2 separate regions of the Homo sapiens genome follow, and region 1 is linked to region 2. The links are contacts of gene promoters, found by promoter capture Hi-C in blood cells and fetal thymus (Javierre and others, 2016). All regions are on one chromosome and are shown on one strand. Each heading gives the region's core, a stretch centred on a gene start or on the middle of the fragment in contact. The rest is flanking DNA. Distances are from core to core; before and after follow the strand shown. Region 1 overlaps RBM6 (RNA binding motif protein 6). Region 2 holds the start of IP6K1 (inositol hexakisphosphate kinase 1).

Region 1 (2,700 bases), core at 55-2,554, 190 kb after region 2:
ATCTGTCAGTGGTATTGGATCTATCACTGATATTTTTCTCCGTGGTTTTGTGTATCTTATTTCTCTCACTAGAGAGGAATGTCAGCAGGAGCCTTATTCCTTCTTGTTTCCACCAGTGCTTGACACTCGGTAGGTTCCCTATATGCATGGAATAGATTATTATTTATGGTGTATGTGAAGAGCAGCTGTGATTTCCCCTCAGGTGAGGAACATAAAAGGGTAGTGTAGGTTTCACAGCAGTGCAGCTTAGGTCTTACATATCTGTTGAAGAATATGTCTTGGAACAATCAGATGTTCTAAGAACTATAGTGTTTACTGTTAAAAGATCATATGTGGTAGTCAGGCATGGTGTTGCACACCTGTAGTCCTAGCTACTTGGGAGTCTGAGATGGGAGAATTTTTTGAGCCTGAGAATTTGAGATCAGCCTGAGCAACATAGCAAGACCTTGTCTCTTAAAAAGAAAAAGAAAAAAAAATGTGAATCTTAGTAGTAACAGTGACTTAAAAATTTTTTTTTATAAGAGAAAGGGTCTTACTCTGTTGCCCAGGTTGGAGTGCATTGGTACGATCATAGCTTACTGTAACCTCAAACCCCTCGGCTCAAGTGATCCTTCTGTCTCAACCTCCAGAGTATTTGGGACTACAGGTGCGTACCACCATGGCAGGCTAATTTTTAAACTTTTTGTAGAGGCGCGGTCTCACTATGTTTCCCAGGCTGGTCTTGAACTCCTGGGTTCAAGTGATTCTCCTGCCTCATCCTCCCACAGTGCTGGGATTACAGATGTGAACCAGTATGCACAGACAAAAAGGTGACATTCATAGGTGAAAACTGGTAATAAATATTTTAGGCTGAGTGATGACCTGCAGAGACCATGCAGGATGGATATTGCTCATAAGAGGGGAATTGTGGAGTACAGTCTGTCCTGTTAGTTGATGTAATGGAGGGCTGATCTATAACACAGGAGAGAAGATTAACGCCTCTTCGTTGACTCTAGTAATGTATTAGTGTAATTTTTGTCTCCTCTAGAGCTGTATAAGTACAGGGTCACAATTTTATCTAGAACCTGTGAGGTTAAATGAGCTTATGAATTTTTCAAGTTATAGAAATGTAGTTTACATAGATCATATGGGAATTATATCTCCCAGGGGAATGTGTACTCAGACATAATACTTACGCTGCAAAATTATTAATATTCTCACTAACAGGAGTAAATAAAGTCTCACAGTATAGGCCAGGATTTGCCTCAAAATGAGTTTGTTGAATTTTACCAAAAAACTTGACATTTATGGGATTTTGGAATTGTAGATAAGAGATTTTGGACCTATATATGTTGTGTATATTTGAATTTTTCATTTGCCATTTACAAATACATTATAACCCCATGAATTGTAAATTATCTTGAATTATATGATTATTTCTGGAAAAAGTACCAGGAGTAAAATGTCTTTTGGTGACTAGACAAACTCTAGTATATATATAAAATGGAATACTTCTCAGCAATGAAGAAGAAACTACTCATGCACCTAACAACATGGATGAATCTCAATGGCAATATGCTGAGTGAAAGAAACTAGACTCATAAGGATATATACACTACCATAAGGAGGAATGAAATACTGATGTATGCTACAAGTTGGATGAACCTTGAAAACATTATAAAAGAAGCCAGACACAAAAGACCAAATATTGTGCAATTCAGTTTATATGAAATATCTAGAGAAGGCACACCCGTAGAGATAGAAAGCAGATTGGTGGTTGCCAGGGGCTAAGCGGGAATGGGGAACGACTCCCTAATGGTTATGGTACTTCTTTTGGGCTGATAGAAGTGTTCTGGAACTAGGTAGTAGTGATGGTTGCATGACATTGTGAATGTACTTAATGCTCCTGAATTGTACACTTTAAAATGATGCATTTTATTTGATGTGTATTTGCTTACTTTGTTTTTTTTTTTTTTTTTTGAGATGAAATCTTGCTCCCGTTGTGTAGGCAGGAGTGCAGTGGCATGACCTCGGCTCACTGCAACCTCCATCTCCCGGGTTCAAACGATTCTCCTTCCTCAGCCTCCCAAGTAACTGGGATTACAGGTGTGTGCCACCACACCTGGCTAATTTTTTGTATTTTTAGTAGAGACGGGGTTTCGCCATGTTGGCCAGGCTGGTCTTGAACTCCCGACCTCAGGTTATCTACCTGCCTGGGCCTCCCAAAGAGCTAGCATTACAGGAGTGAGCCACTGTGCCCAGCCAGCTTACAATTTTTTAAAAAGGCTACATACTATATGTGTATGTGTGATTTCACTTATGTGACATTCTGGAAGGGACAAAATTTTAGGGATTGGAAATAGTGGTGGCCAGGGTATTGGGGGAGGAGTTAACTATAAAGCGGAAGCATGAGGGAATTTTTGGGTATAATGGAATTGTTCTATATCTTGATTGTGGTGATGATGTATCAATGTTAAATTCCCCGAGTTGATAACTACTGTGGTTATGTTAGAGAACATCTTTTTTCTTTTCTTTTTTTTTTTAAACGGAGTCTCGTTTGGTCACCCAAGCTGGAGCGTAATGGCGCGATCTCAGCTTACTGCAACCTCTGCCTCCTGGATTCAAGCAATTCTGCCTGCCTTAACTTCCTGAGTAGCTGGGATTACAGGCGCCTGCCCCTACTCCTAGCTAATTTTTGTATTTTTTTTAGTAGCGACAGGG
Region 2 (2,700 bases), core at 88-2,587:
GTACTGTTAAAAGTTAATTTGCGCCGGGCATAGTGGCTCACACTTGTAACCCCAGCACTTTGGGAGGCCAAGGGGGGTGGATCACGAGGTCAGGAGTTCGAGACCAGCCTGGCCAACATGGTGAAACCCCGTCTCTATTAAAAATACAAAAATTAGCCGGGCATGGTGGCGCGTGTCTGTAGTCCTACCTACTCGGGAGGCTGAGGCAGGATAATCGCTTGAACCCGGGAGGTGGAGGCTGTGGTGAGCCGAGATCGCGCCACTGCACTCCGGCCTGGGCAACAGAGCGAGAGACTCTGTCTCAAAAGAAAAAAAAGAAAAAAAACAGTTAATTTGCCAGTTCCATATCATCCACAACAAAAACAAGTTTCTTTTTCCGATTCTAAGACACTCCTACGTTTCCTTTGTCTCCTATGGCGAGCATCCCTTTAGGAGATAAAATCAAGTCATCACCATAATACTCACTTTCTCCTAAAGCAAAAAGAGGAAGACATTACCACTCTCCAAAAAGTGGTGGTGAAGAACCAAAGAAATTATGTTCCAAAATAAAACTCAGCCATTATGGACATTTAACCAGGTTCTTTGCGAGGAAAACGGTGAGCTTCGAGGTACACGTGAGGTTCCGAACGGGTCTCAGGAAGCAGCAGCCAGGCAGAGGGTCCCCCTTGCCATAATCATAGGGCCGTGACACCGGCCTGCCTGGCTCGCGGGGGCTTTGGCTTGCTTCGTCTAGTCTTAGCATCCAGCGTCCTGAAAATCACTCGCAGGAACGCTATCTAAGAAAGAGGTAAGTCTATTTCTCAGCCAGGAGCAACATAACTCCCAGGAGAGCATCAGGGTGGCACCGGACACACTTTAGCGCTCCGGATCAGCGGAGTCCAGAGCTTCGGTCAGAGAAGCTGGTTTCCCGCTACTAGCCGGCCAACCCTCAGGCACTGGCGCTCTCCGTCCTCCACACCGGCTGTCCCCCCGGCTTCGGTGCCAGCATCTGGGAGGCTCGGCGGGCGGCCGGTCAGGACGCTCGAGCGATGTTCCAGTGATGGCCCCACCGGAGCCCCGACCCCACACGCGCCCACTCCAACCCCGCGCCCGCCACCGCCCTCCCCGCGGGCGTCAGGCCGGTCTATCGGCCCGGCTCCTGTCACTCACCTGCCCGGCCCGGGCACCGAGCGCCCACGGCTCCCTACGGGAGCTGGGCCCCCCGGGCCTCCAGGTTTCGGCCCGCCCCCTGGCAGGCAGCACAGGTGGCTGAGCACCGCTACAGCGGCCTCTCACCGGCCGCTTGGTCCAGCTCCCGGCGCTGCCCACTGGGTACGGATCAACAACAAGATGGCGGCTAGCCGAGGGGGCGGGGGCCGGGCGTCATAGTAACCAGGACTGCAAAGAACCCGCCCCCGAGGGGGTGCTATCCCCAATCAACAGTCTTTTTGCTCGTCGCCAGGGGAAGTGCTTCCTGCTGACAGGTCAGCTCACGTGTCAGTCAGAGTCTGCCTCTCAGGGCCTCTGCCGAAAGCGTGGGGCACGTGACTGTGACGGCATGGGTTGGCGCATGCGCTTCGTTCCCGGAGTGGCTGGCGGCGGAGTTTTCGCTGGCTACTACGAGGCCGGAGCGCCCTTGGCCTCTCTGCGTCCCTGGCCCTCGTGCGGTACCGGCGGCGTCTTGTCATACACTTGCGCACACACAGGGAATCTCAGCGGTGTGCTATTCGTTTTTTTGTCCCCCACTCTGGGAGAAGGGGGGTGCAGCCCCCAGTTCACTCTGGAGAGGAAACTGAGGCTCAGAGAGGGGAGGCCGAGCCAAGGTCACGCCACCTCTAGAAATGGAGGTGCTGGGTCTCGCACCTCCTCCTGCTGGTTTCAGAGTGTGAGGAGCCTCTATCCCAGCTTCCCACGCTTTGTCCCTTACTAGCCTCGAGGTACCGCAGTCTGTGCTGCCACAGCAGCCTCTGGCTCATTGCCCATGCTTTCCTGCCTGAGGTTTAGAGCCTAGCACAAGTCCTGACACACAGCGGGCACTCCCTTTTCTCTTCCCTAGAGCATCTTGTCTTGAGATCCTGTGACAGCATCTTTTGCCCTGGACTGTCATGACCGGCCTCCCAAGCAGACTAATGGTCCCAGGAAGATGGTCACACCTTGCTCCCCATACAGAACACCTAACTCTGGGCTTGGCTTCAGGCTTAGAACAACAGATGAAGTTACGTGGCCTGGGCCCACACCCAAATGCCCCAACTAGCTAACTCTGACTTTTGAGCCTTAGCCTCTCTTTAGCTTTGGTTGTCCCATCTGTAAAATGAAGATAAAAGTGGAGCTTCTCAGAGGAAGATTTAATGAGCCCTCAGAGCAGGGGAAGAACTCAGGAAAAATCTGCCTACAACCACTTCCTGGAACAACCTGCTTCCAAGTTGCTGTTCCTGAGGCGTGCCTTAAAACACTAACTTTGGTGGAAGCCCCATGAAGCGTTTTTGTTTTGCTTTGTTTTGTTCCCACAGAAGGCTTTCAGCTTCTTCCTGGCCCTGGGATACCATAACTGGTTCAGAAGGGGAGGTCCTCCTAGCTAGGCGCAGTGGCTCATGCCTGTAATCCAGCACTTTGGGAGGCCAAAGAAGGTGGATCACTTGAGGTCAGAGGTTCGAGACCAGCCTGGCCAAAATGGTGAAACCCTGTCCCTACTAAAAATACAAAAATTAGCTGGACGTGATG

What was found. The method cuts DNA at HindIII sites, captures the fragments that hold promoters and counts their contacts. A CHiCAGO score of 5 or more calls a contact.
Region 1: a contact is called between a fragment that was not itself captured here and the fragment with the promoter of IP6K1 in region 2, in 1 of 17 cell types (M2 macrophages). The highest score is 5.2, in M2 macrophages.

The regions. Positions count from the first base shown.
Region 1 is chr3:49,977,498-49,980,197 of GRCh38, forward strand. The region is part of intron 5 of RBM6 (RNA binding motif protein 6); the gene reads left to right. Among named protein-coding and RNA genes, the nearest start is that of RBM6, 39 kb to the left of the region's middle. The HindIII fragment of the contact is 6,129 bases long and covers 1-2,700 here.
Region 2 is chr3:49,785,205-49,787,904 of GRCh38, forward strand. IP6K1 (inositol hexakisphosphate kinase 1) reads right to left here and starts at 1,338. Exons shown (of 6, transcript NM_153273.4): 1 at 1,150-1,338. RefSeq lists silencers at 952-1,301, 2,037-2,201 and enhancers at 1,016-1,705, 1,792-1,861. The HindIII fragment of the contact is 18,469 bases long and covers 1-2,700 here.